Linked DNA regions of Homo sapiens: region 1 is linked to region 2. Evidence: promoter capture Hi-C in 16 types of primary human blood cells and fetal thymus (Javierre and others, 2016). All regions are on one chromosome and are shown on one strand. The core of a region is centred on a gene start or on the middle of the fragment in contact, and the rest is flanking DNA. Distances in the headings are between cores, read along the strand shown.

Evidence for each region. The method cuts DNA at HindIII sites, captures the fragments that hold promoters and counts their contacts. A CHiCAGO score of 5 or more calls a contact.
Region 1: a fragment that was not itself captured here is called in contact with the fragment with the promoter of LINC01011 in region 2 in 2 of 17 cell types (naive CD4 T cells and total CD8 T cells); the score reaches 7.0 in naive CD4 T cells.

The regions. Positions count from the first base shown.
Region 1 is chr6:4,003,996-4,010,639 of GRCh38, reverse strand. LOC124901245 (a long non-coding RNA gene) reads left to right here. Exons shown (of 2, transcript XR_007059415.1): 2 at 1-6,644. Among named protein-coding and RNA genes, the nearest start is that of PRP4K, 14 kb to the left of the region's middle. The HindIII fragment of the contact is 9,050 bases long and covers 258-6,644 here.
Region 2 is chr6:2,985,321-2,991,272 of GRCh38, reverse strand. LINC01011 (long intergenic non-protein coding RNA 1011) reads right to left here and starts at 3,306. Exons shown (of 3, transcript NR_026856.1): 1 at 3,242-3,306; 2 at 1,540-1,745; 3 at 102-1,404. NQO2-AS1 (NQO2 antisense RNA 1) reads left to right here. Exons shown (of 2, transcript NR_186367.1): 2 at 1,262-1,937. RefSeq lists enhancers at 127-934, 1,212-1,371, 935-1,744, 1,745-2,554, 2,555-3,364 and a silencer at 1,942-2,361. The HindIII fragment of the contact is 2,996 bases long and covers 890-3,885 here.

The sequences.
Region 1 (6,644 bases), core at 3,533-6,032, 1.0 Mb before region 2:
ATCTTTCTATCATGCAGATCTGTTCTTAGGATTGTATTTTCCAAATCATGAATAAAATAATTTCCAAAATACTTATTGGGAAATTATATATATGTACTGTATTACTTGGAATAAAAATCAAATAAAAGTCAAACTTCTTAATGTGGCTGTAAAGCCTTGATTATTTAAACCTTGCCTATTTTTCAGTTTAATCTTTCAGCCACACTGGCCCTTGTGTTAATCCTAAAACATGCCATGCTTTTTCCTACATTAAAGCTTAGGGTTTTTGATATTTCTACTGCCTGGATTTCTCTGTTCTCACTCTTCCTCTTGATCACCATGACTTATTTTTCAAGTGTTGGCTTAAATGTCCGTCTCACAGATAGCCCTTATCTAAATAACAGCTTTCCCTCTGGTTCCTAGATAAATTAGGACCTGTTTTTTTCTATAACTTTCTTAAAGTATCCTATTATTTTCCCTGATAAAACCTTGTTGGACTGTTTGTCAGTATATTTATTTGCCTGTTTGTTTGGTGTCAGTTTCTCTTTTTTTCCTGTGTGTTTTGTTTGTTTGTTTTTTTGAGACGCAGTTTCACTCTGTCACCAGGCTGGAGTGCAATGGTGCAATCTCGGCTCACCACAACCTCCACCTCCCAGGTTCAAGCAATTCTTCTGCCTCAGCCTCCCGAGTAGCTGGGATTACAGGCATGTGCCACCATCCTGGCTAATTTTGTATTTTTAGTAGAGACAGGGTTTTTCCATGTTGGTCAGGCTGGTCGCAAACTCCCGACCTCAGGTGATCCGCCTGTCTTGGCCTCCCAAGGTGCTGAGATTACAGGCGTGAACCACCGCACCCGGCCTGTTTGTTTGTTTTCTTATTAGACTATAAACTATATGAGATCAGACCATGTCTCTTTTGTTTATCACTCTGGCCTACCTGCTAACACAGTGCTTACACATAATAGTAGGTGCTCAAGAAATACAGTGTTTGATGGATGAACGTAAAATTGTAAGAGCCTGAACTAGTGTAATATCGAAAATAGGGAGGAAGACATGAATTAGGAAAGCCTTTGAAAAATTAGCATGTTCTGTGATAAAGCTACATCTAGGCAATATTTTTTGATACTTTTAAAAAAAAAACTGTAATAGCTACCCAATATTTAGGAATGATACACATCACACATCTCAGTGAGGTATGTAGCCTTTTGTACTGGTGAAGAGAGCCAGGTGAAGTCTAACTCTAAGGATCTAAACACTCCATTCTAGTAGAGAGCCTGGAGAAGTGCTCTTGCATAAGCTCATCCATGTAAGACCATCCATAACTTAGTGAAATAATTTTCATTGCTGTTTAGTTGCAAAAATCACTCACTGTTTTGCCTCCATAAGATTATCGGTTTTAGTGTTTAATCGTTCACAGCCTTGTCAAAACCAAAATGGCTAGGGAGAGAACTATTTCCCTACATTAAAACTTCGAGCAATGCTCTTCATAGATTTTGTTTTGAATTGTTTAGGCCCATCTCAGAGTTCAAGACACTTAGTCTCTTCTAAGAGAAATCATGGTCACAACAAACAGAGATTAAATAAAGAGCAAGAAATTAGAAGAAACTCAAACCATTCACTTAGATTATTTGTTAGATTTTGGCCTTAAAAAGAGACAAAGTTGCTTGAAACAAGTGATTAAACTGACATTTTTAGATTATTATTTTATTCATACCTTTATTGTGAATAAATTGGCCACATGATAACATTTTATAATGTTAAATAAATATGATATATATAAATCTGTATACCACAACAATTAAATTGGAGGGCGATTTGCCATTTAAATAATTTATCATAGGATTTTTATAAGATCAAGCGCTTAGTGCATATCAAAGAGACAGAAAGTTTTCATTGCAGTTCTGCACGTTCACTGAGTACCTTTTATGTACCAGTTGCATTGTTCTAGAATCTTATCTATCATGTAAAGCTAGGTACACCTGAAATAGTTTAGTTATGGTGGCAAAGTTAGACTGCAGTTATTGGCTGGGAATTTTTTGTATATCTATGTACATCTTCCATAAGAGGGCAGCAAAGGACCAGCATGATTTTTTCCTTATCATGAAGTCATAGCAGAGATTGCCTCATATTGCAAACTTAATAGAAATCTTCTCAGAGTAAGGGCAAACAGAGGGCATGGTTACAAGTTTACTTACTGTCTAGCCTGTCTTTTATATGGTCTGATATGGCTTTTTAGTACATAGATTATCTCACATCACAGTGATAGCCTAGTGATTAAATGTTGATCCTGGGGTCAGTTGTCAGGCTTTAAATCCTGGAACCATAACTTAACTAGCTTCGTGGTCTAGAAAGACTACTCAGTCTTTCTGAGCCTCAGTTTCTTCCTCAATTTTTTATAAAAAGGAGGGCAAGGGATAGTAACAATGCCACTTCACATGGTTTTAATAAACAAAATAAAATTTGTGTCCTGAAGAGGCTAAGAACAGTTAAAAGGTGGAGCTAGAAAAACCACCCTATACTAGCCTTAGGTGTATTGTATTTATTTAAGTTAAACTCTTATTAAAAAGAGTCTCATAAAGGAAAATATAGGTCATTACTTTCTGTAACTACTTAGTATTTTTAGTTAACTAACATATATATCTATGTACTGACCAATTATTTGCTCGTACAATTTATCAAACCAATTAAATATACACTGTTAAATTTATTTCCCTGTCCCCCGAGACAGATCCTGGCTACGTTGCCCAGGCTGGAGTGCAGTGGCGCGATTTTGGCTCACTGCAACCTCTGCCTCCCAGGTTCAGGCAATTCTCCTGCCTCAGCCTCCTGAGTAGCTGGGATTACAGAGGCCTGCCACCATGCCTGGCTAATTTTTGTATTTTTAGTAGAGATGGGATTTCACCATGTTGGCCAGGGTGGTCTCAAACTCCTGACCTCAGGTGATCCAGCCGCCTCGGCCTCCCAGAGTGTTGGGATTACAAGCATGAGCCAGCACGCCTGGCCTGAAAATACATTTTGATGAACAAAAAATTTTTAATTTTTTTTTTTTTTTTTTTCCTGAGACAGAGCTTTGCTCTGTCACCCAGGCTGGAGTGCAATGGCGTGATCTTGCCTCACTGCAACCTATGCCTCCTGGGTTCAAGCAATTCTCCTGCCTCAGCCTCCCGAGTAGCTAGGATTACAGGCATGGGCCACCATGCCCGGCTAATTTTTTGTATTTTTAGTAGAGACGGGATTTCACCATGTTTGCCAGGCTGGTCTCAAACTCCTGACCTTGTGATCCGCCCCCGTGGCCTCCCAAAGTGCTGAGATTGCGGGCGTGAGCCACCACTCCCAGCCAAAAATTTTTTAATTTTAAAAGTCAATGTATATCATTTGTATTTTATAGTTAGTGCTTTTTTTGTATTGTTTAAATTTTTAAAATTCTTCCATTAATCTAAAATATTTTCATGTGTGCTTTCTACTAAGAGAATTTAAGTTTTGTTTTTGACATTATAGTTTTTAATACATTTGGATTTGGATCTTATATCTTGTATGATACAGAACTCTAATTTTCGCCTTTAACTACATGCATAATCATTTTTTCCACCTCCACTTATTGAATAGTTCCTAATTTTCCCATCAATATCATGTGTTTCTTCTGGCATAGCCAAAGTCCCATAAATGTGTGGGTCTGTTGTAGTTTCCTATTTAATTCAGTTAATTTGTCCAATTTGTTTTATTATGCCTTAATTACCACAGCTTCACAGTAAGTCTTTATGTCTGATAGGGCAGCTTCCTCTAGTGTCTTCAGAAATTTCCTGACTTTAAAAAAAATCCTTATTGTTCATGCTTTTTTAAAGAATTAGCTTTACATGATGCAAGAAAAAGATCTGTTGGAATTTTGATTGTAATTTTGTTAAATCTATAGGTCAACTAATTACAATATTGAATCTTCTTATGCACAAACATGGTATATTTCTCCATTTATTCAGGTCTTTATTTAATGTCTCCTAATGTCTTTTTGTAGTTTTTACTTAGAGATCTTACATATTTGTTATTATATTTACTCCTAGGTACTTGGTATTCTCTAAGATTATTGAAAATGCTGTCTTCTTTTTAATTACATTTTCAGGTATTTGTCATTGGTATAAAGAAATGTATTTGACAATAATCTTATATTCACCTTAAATTCTCTTATTTCTAATAAATTGTACTTTTTTTGGTTTTCTACAAAAATGATCATATCTAAAAATAAAGTTAGATTTGTTTATTCTTCTGCATCATTTTGAATTCAGTTTATTATTTCATGTGCTATTAGAACCTTTAATTTAGTATTATTTATTTTTTGATTTGTAAATCGGAATGCTTTTATTATCTTTTCATTTAGGATGATGTTTACTGTAGGTTACTTAGATACGCTCTATGGAAATCTCTTTTATTTTTTCTAAGACCTTTTATTATGAATTTAATGTTGAATTTTATCAAATGCTTTCTCTGCATTTATTAGAATAATTATGATTTTTCTCTATCTGTTATTATAATGGGTCAGATTTATAGATTTTTCTCATACTAAGCCTATCCTTGTATTCCTTGGATAAATCTAACTTGGTAATGTTTACTTTTTTCATAACTTTTAGCTATTAAGTAGATACCAAATTTTCTTTCAAGGTCAAGTTTGATAGTTATAAAAAACTAGTGATACTAAGTCATAGAAAATATACTTTAAAAAACTAGTGATACTAAGTCATAGAAAATATACTTTATTTTATAAAAAGACTTTAACTGTAAAAAGTAAAAAAAAAAAAAAAAAAAAAAAAAAAAAAAAAAAAAACCTGGCCGGGTGCGCTGGCTCACCCCTGTAATCCCAGCACTTTGGGAGGCCGAGGCAGGCAGATCACGAGGTCAGGGGATCGAGACCATCCTGGCTAACACGGCGAAACCCCGTCTTTACTAAAAATACAAAAAATCAGCCGGGCGTGGTGGTGGGCGCCCGTATTCCCAGCTACTCGGGAGGCTGAGGCAGGGGAATGGCGTGAACCCTGGGGGGGCGGAGCTTGCAGTGAGCCAAGATTGCGCCACTGCACTCCAGCCTGGGAGACAGAGCAAGACTCTGCCTCAAAAAAAAAAAAAAAAAAAACCCCTAGAATTTTAATTACTGCCTTTACTTTTAATTCAGTGGTTTTTAGTATATTCACAGAGTTGTGTAACAATCACCATGATCAATTTTAGCATATTTTTATTACTTCAAAAAGCAACTCTGGACTCATGAGCAGTCATTCACTCCCCATCTGCTCCCAACCCCTTTGTTCCCATCCGCCCACCCAGCCCTAGGCAGCCACTAATCTACTTTCTGTCTCTACAGATTTGCCTGTTCTGGACCTTTCATATAAATGCAATCAGGCAAAAGAAAGGAGATTTCAGTGCTCAGTGTTGCCAGGTATCTCTGCCTCCAGTTTTGCACCTTCCTGGAAAGCTCATTTTGTTCAGATTGTCTGCCTGCCTCTATCTATCCTGCCTTCAGTGGATGGCAGAGATTTCATCTCTTTTGTTTGCACAGCCTTGAAAGGTGCTTGATACAGAGATGCTTGGTAAATACTTGCAGAATAAATTATAAAAGTAACACATACTCATAAAAATTTTAAAGTAAAAATATGTATAGTAATAAACACTTGGTGCTTATTACATATCATCCAGTGGGATAAATGCTTGTAAGTATAGTCAGCCTTCTGTTTCCCTGGGTTCCAGATTTGTGGATTCAACCAACTGTGGCTCTAAAATATCTGGGGGGAAAATGGCATCTGTACTGAACATGTACATACTTCTTTTCTTGTCATTCCTTAAACAATACAGTATAACTATTTACATAGCATTTATACTGTATTAGGTATTATAAGTAATCTAGAGATTATTTAAAATATACTGGAGGATGTGCATAGGTTATATGCACATACTATGCCATTTTATATCAGAGATTTGAGCATCCAAGGATTTGGGTATCTGCAAATTTTGGTATTCTTGGGAGGTCCTGGAACCAATCTCTTACAGATACCAAAGGATGGCTGTATTCTCCATTCCTTTTCACCAGCTGAGATCGTACTGTTATCTGCACTTAACAGATTAAGAAATAGGTGTGATGAGTAATTTGTTTAAATTCTGTGGTTGATTGTGTTACTTTTCGACTGTATTCTGTGCTCTTCCCTACAGGAGGATTATTCATTCCTGTTTACTTGAATTCAGGCAACATCATGTAACTTGATTTAAGGAACCGATACATGAGTGGAAATTCTGTGTGGCATTTCTGAGCAGAAGTTTTATGAGGCAGCACATGCTCACTGTGTTACCTGTTCCTTCTGCCATGAGACTGGCAGATGGACATTCTCTATCAGCCAGGATATCAGAATGAAGAAATGTAGAACATAGACCAAAACACCAATGAGAAATAAGCGTTTGTTGTTTTAGGGAAAGTGTGTTACCACAGCATAATTTAACCTATCCCAAGTGAATACATATTCATGGAGTTAATATCTATACCTGAAAATTGAAACTCAGGTTGTCTACATCTAACTATGCCTCTGTCTTTTCCAAAGGTATAAAGTAGGAGAAACTTCCCCATGATCCTACTCTTCCAGTGTTAACTACAGTTAAAATTTAGTGTAAAATTGTTTAATACTTTTTCCTATGTGT
Region 2 (5,952 bases), core at 2,057-4,556:
AGTTAGAAGGTCTTAAACATAATATATTTTAAACAAACAGTTAAAGGAAAAAGATTAACCTAGTGTTGTAACCGAGCGAGTTACAGAGAAACGCCACACTCTGAGACGAATTCAGGAGTCCTTTATTAGCCGGCAGCCGAGAGACAGCTAGCGCTCGAAATTCTCTTGGCCCCGAAGAAGGAGCTAGATTTTCTTTTATACTTTGGTTTAGACAGGGGAGAGGGGGAGTCTAGTTGAAACAATCTTACAGAAGTAAAGTAGGCAAAAAGTTAAAAGGATAAACGGTTACAGGAAAGTAAACAGTTCCAGGTGCAGAGGCTTTAAGTCTATCCTAAGGTGATGGACGCCGGGCTTTGGGCGTTATCAACCGGACACAAACGCAGGGGCTCTGGGTGCTATTAACCGGGCGAATTCCTGGGAACTGCGGATATAGCTTGCCACAGTATCTTATCAGTTAATTGCATTCTTGATGTGCTGGGAGTCAGCTTGCACAAGTTAAGTCCTTGAGGAAGGGGGTGGGTAAGGGGCTGCGAGTGAAGGAGTCACGATGGAGTCCGTCTGGCTCTCTTAGCTAAGGAAGAGTCACTTCAGGTTAAAACAAGGTAGGGTATCCCACTAGAAGCCTCACATCATTAAGCTTCAGTCAGGCAGGCATTCCTTTAAAAAGTGTTTACTGAGTACCTTCTCTATGTCAGTCACTATTTGGGGCATAAAGGACTCACTTCTCCGCAAAAACAAACTCTGATCCCCCGGTCTCCTCGAGTCACGGAGCTTGCAAGCTAGTGGGAAAAATTGGGAACTGGTGCAAAGAATGACTGCAAAATAAATTGTGGTCATCTTGAAGACATATGCGTGCATGTGTGCGTGAAGCTTTTTAAATAGAGAAGCTTTAAGTGGGGGAAATTTGCTGACATTACACGATTTCTTCTCTTAGTGCAAATGTATACAGCCTGTCTTTTTGAAGGGGTCACGGTAGATAATTATGCTCTGTTAACCTCATTTGTTGTCAGGGAAAATTAAAACTAAGGGTAGTGTCAGTAGGAATCTTGGTTCCTGCCAGTTTTGTTGTTTGTTAGCATATCTTCCTTTACAGGTAGTATGGTTTCATTTTCGTAAAAATGCTGCATAAACGTGGCTGGGTATGTTACTCATTGCAGTGCCTGCTGATTTCGCTGGACCCCACCCTGCTTTTGCTGCCCAATGCGATAGCATATGGGACAGAGCTAAATTCCTACTCAGCTGTAACTCTGCTTATTTTCAGGAAAAAGAATGCCTGTGTTTCGAAGTTCCTTCTTAGGACGAAACCAGCTGAAGCTGGCGAAATCCAAGATGGCGCCTCTGAAGAGCCTCTGGCTTTATCATCATCCTGTTCTCATGCTAAACAACATGTCGCCATGACAACGACTGGAAGAGACCAAGAAGGGACAGAAAAAAAGGGGTTTCTTGATTCCGGGAAAAATCTCCGTTCTTTCCCAAGGAAAGCACGAATATTCCCCCCCGTGCTCTTAATGCCCAGCCCCTTCATTAAAGACACCCTACCTCTGAAACTTCCCAGCTCTCACAAGCTAAGTTGATTTCAGATCTTCCAATTCCATAGCCATTGAATACAGCCTGCACTGCTTGACACACTCCCTTTCGGTTTCGTGCATTGGCCTCACCACGCAACAGGAAACAACCCTTTTTGGGATAACCGGGACTCCCGGTAACATTTCCATATATACATATCTTAATGTATGCAAGGGCGTCTGGGGGAGAAAGAAGCAGCACATTTCATTCTTTGCTTTCTATAATACTGGATTGCTTGAGTTTGTGACACATGTTAACATTTGCAACATTTTTAAACTAAATTGTATGTATTATAGAACAGTCCTCTGCGCTGAGCTTGGACTTAAAGTGGAAAGGCTTACATTTGCAGAATTAAAAAAAGCATCGAAACATTCTGTGGCAGGAAGTCCTGCGAGCCTCCTCGCCCCAGCCCGGTTTCCCGCGGGCCCCAGCCTCATCCCCCAAGGCCCCACCCTGAGAGCCCCCAGGTCCCAGCCGCGTCCTCCTGGACCCCTCCCAGGCGTGGCGAGCCGGGTCGCGGGAGCGCTCCGCCACCAGGGGACAGTGCGGCGCCGACCGTGGGCTGCTGGCTCGGCCGAGGGCACCCAGGCGCCCTCCGCTGCAGCGGGCTGGTTGCAGAGGGGCGGGCTCTCGCCAGGCAGCAGGCGCTCCGGGCGCAGCTGGGAGGAAGGAACGCCCCCGGGAGTGGGCGGCGGCCGAGGGACCCTGCAACCGTCCTCCCTGGAGGAGGCCCCCGCAGCTCCCGCAGCCCCCCTCATCCCGGACGGGCCGGGGATTGGGACTGGCCTGGGGTCTCCTACTCTCCTACTCCGCGCAGGAAGTAGCCCCTTGGCAGGACCGGCGGTGCCTGCTGCTTTCAGGAGCCCCGAGCCGCTTTTGTCTGGGTGCAGCTCAGCTCACATCCCCGATGCAAGTCTTTCCCGGCTCGTCTCCCCTTCTTCCCGGAGTCCATGCCTTGCTGTCGGTGACTCATCCCACACTGTGCCCTGCGACTCACCCTGTCGCTTTCTCTGTTCATCCGGGAGCGCGGCGCCATCTCCCTCCAGCCCCGCCTCCCCTACAGTGCTCCGTGCTGAGGTCGCACGTTCTCTCCTCCCTCCAGCTCCCTGGCTCTTGGCCCTTCCCAGGCCACCAGGCGACAGCAGCCTCCGCCTTCATTTCCCTTGGTCATTTCAGGCGCATGCTTGGAGGATTTCAGGATCTGACTCAGCTTCCCCGCCATGCATCCCTCCACCAGCATCCAGTCACACCTCTGCAGCCTTCAGTGTCCTGGAAAGGACTGACCAATCTGACCCATTAGAACCTACCCAGACCAATTTGAAGGCCACTGCCCCTCAACCGTGGCCACCCACTCCTGCCCCACCTGGAGCCCCAAACTGCTCAGTTCCTTCTCTAAAACTCTGCCCTCTTTTGTTTGTTGTGAATAACTGTCTTCCCTGGTTCTTTCCACACCTCTCTGGCCTCTCCTTGTCTTTTTCTGGTTCTTTTTTTCTCTATTCTCCCTTATGCACTGGCCTTGCTGGAGGTCCCTGCTCTCCCTGCAAAACCTCACCACACCCTTGACTTCAGCTATATCCATTTCACCTCACGTTGACATCTGGTGCCTAGACCTCTCTCCCGAGCCTTCCACACCATGCCAAAAATGAAATTCATTTTCTCCTCTAAATTTGCTCACCTTCTTGTTTTCCCAATCTTATTTATTGTCACAGCCATTCCCCTGCTGGTCCAAGTCAGTAGTCTGAGAGTCATGCTAGACTCCTCCTTCCTTATCTACCCATCCACCAATCCCCAAGCCCTGTCTATCCTCCTTTTTTTTTTTTTTTTTTTCCAGTCAGAGTCTTGCTGTGTTGCCCAGGCTAGAGTGCAATGGCACGATCTCGGCTCACTGCAATCTTTGCCTCCCGGGTTCAAGTGATTCTCCTGCCTCAGCCTCCTGAGTAGCTGGGATTACAGGCGCATGTCACCACGCCCAGCTAATTTTTGTATTTTTAGCAGAGATGAGGTTTTGCCATGTTGGCCAGGCTGGTCTTGAACTGCTGACCTCGTGATCCGCCTGCCTCTGCCTCCCAAAGTGCTGGGATTACTGGCATGAGCCACTGTGCCTGGTCATCTATCCTCCTTTTTAAATAGCTCTGCCATGTGTGCCTGTCTCCCCTGACAGCTCACCCTCATCCTATTTGTCCACATTGCTGCAGAGTAGTCTCTTCCATACACCAGGAGTTCCCAACCCCCGGGCCACAGACCTGACTGGTCTGTAGCCTGTTAGGAACCAGGACACACAGCAAGAGGTGAGCCACCAGTGGGTGAGCTAGTGAAGCTTTATCTGTATGTGCAGCTGCTCCCCATTGCTTGCATTACCACCAGAGCTCTGCCTCCTATCAGATCAGGCAGCATTAGATTCTTATAGGAGCACAAACCCTACTGTGAACTGCACACATAAGGGATCTAGGATGTGCGCTCCTTATGAGAATCTAATGCCTGATAATCTGCCGTTGTCTTCATCACCCCCACATGGGGCCAGATAGTTGCAGGAAAACAAGCTCAGGGCTCCCACTGAAAATAAAGTGCACAAGAAGTGTCATGTGCTTGAATCATCCCGAAACCATCCTCTGCTGTCCAAGGAAAAATAGTTTTCCACAAAACCCCTCCCTGGTGCCAAAAAGGTTGGGATGGTTGCCATACATAACTCTGATGATGAGACCACGAAGCTCAGAATCCTCCAGAGGCTCTCCACTGCCTGTAAGATGAAATAAAATTTATGGGTGTGACTTATCCATAAGGGCCCAGTCTAAACTGCCTCATATTTAATTATATAGTAAGCTATTTGTTTCCTCAAACGTATATATTTTGGCCCATTTCCCAGTCTCCTAGGTTGGAATATGCTCTGTGTGTCACCTGGCCAGCTCATGCTCTTTCTCATTCTCAGCTCAAGTGTTAGGGACTCTATGACACCTTTCTTGATTCTCCCAGTCAGACATATTGTTGCTACTTTTTCTTAACACTTATCCTTTTATCCTTGGCACCACTAAAGCACATATCACATCAGATTTCACTTGTTTGCACATCTGTCTGGCATCTTGAGCCCAGGGACCGTGTCGCCTGTCTTCATGTCCCCAGGCCCTAGTGTAGCTCCCAGCCTATAGTGAGTGCAGAATAAAAGTTTGTAGAATGAGGCCAGGCGCGGTGGCTCATGCCGGTAATCCCAGCACTTTGTGAGGCCAAGGTGGGCAGATCACGAGGTCAGGAGTTTGAGACCAGCCTGACCAACATGGTGAAACCTCGTCTCTACTAAAAATACAAAAAATAGCCGGGTGTGGTGGCACGCGCCTGTAATCCCAGCTACTCAGGAGGCTGAGGCAGGAGAATCGCTCAAACCTAGGAGGTGGAAGTTGCAGTAAGCTGAGATCGCGCCACTGCACTCCAGCCTGTGCAACAGAGTGAGACTCTGTCTCAAAAAAAAAAAAAAAAGTTTGTAGAATGAATGAAACAATTAGTTACACCACAGTTAGTGAGTCATCGATACTTCATCAAGGCTGGGTATTTCGTATAATAAAGTTATTAAAGCTGATAAGCAAAGATCAAGTTACCCAAAGAACAGCACTGCCGGTGATCTAAAGGTCTTTGCCCTCAGGTTGCTTAGGTAACGGAAAGGATAAGAACTCCCCACTGTTCTGGGGCGGATCTTACATTGCTTTTGGAAGAGGCAATAGACTTGGGAAAGAAAGGAGTGTGTGTATTGAGGTATTGAGGGAATGGTTAGGTGGGAGGAGTCAGAGAGGAAGGCTGCAGTAGCCCCTCAGTCGACCCTGGCTGCTTTGTCCTTGGGGCTCAGTGAACAGATTATCTGTTTTCATGGTAAGGGGTTGGGATTCTCTACTTCAGGTGGGCACCCAGAAAGTGAATTGCTCGCCTTTGTTTAAAAATAATGAAAATGGGCCGGGCGCGGTGGCTCATGCCTGTAATCCCAGCACTTTGGGAGGCTGAGGCAGGTGGATCACCTGAGATCAGGAGTTTGATACCAGCCTGGCCAACATGGTGAGACCCCGTCTCTATTAAAAATACAAAAATTAGCCAGGCGTGGTGATGGGTGCCTGTAATCGCAGCTACTCAGGAGGCTGACACAGGAGAATCACTTGAACCCAGGAGGCGGAGGTTGCAGTGAGCTAAGATCTTGCCACTGCACTCCAGCCTGGGCTACAGAGCAAGACTCTGTCTCAAAAACAAACAAACAAAAAACCCAAAAATAATGAAAATGTCTGCCCACCCTTCACTAAGTAAACATAATGAAAATGCACATCTTGTGCCCTCTTTTGCTTTTATTCTATAATACCCAAGCCTACGTTTTGGAACTAAACCCCACGCCCTTTGTGTGAAAGCCATGCGGAT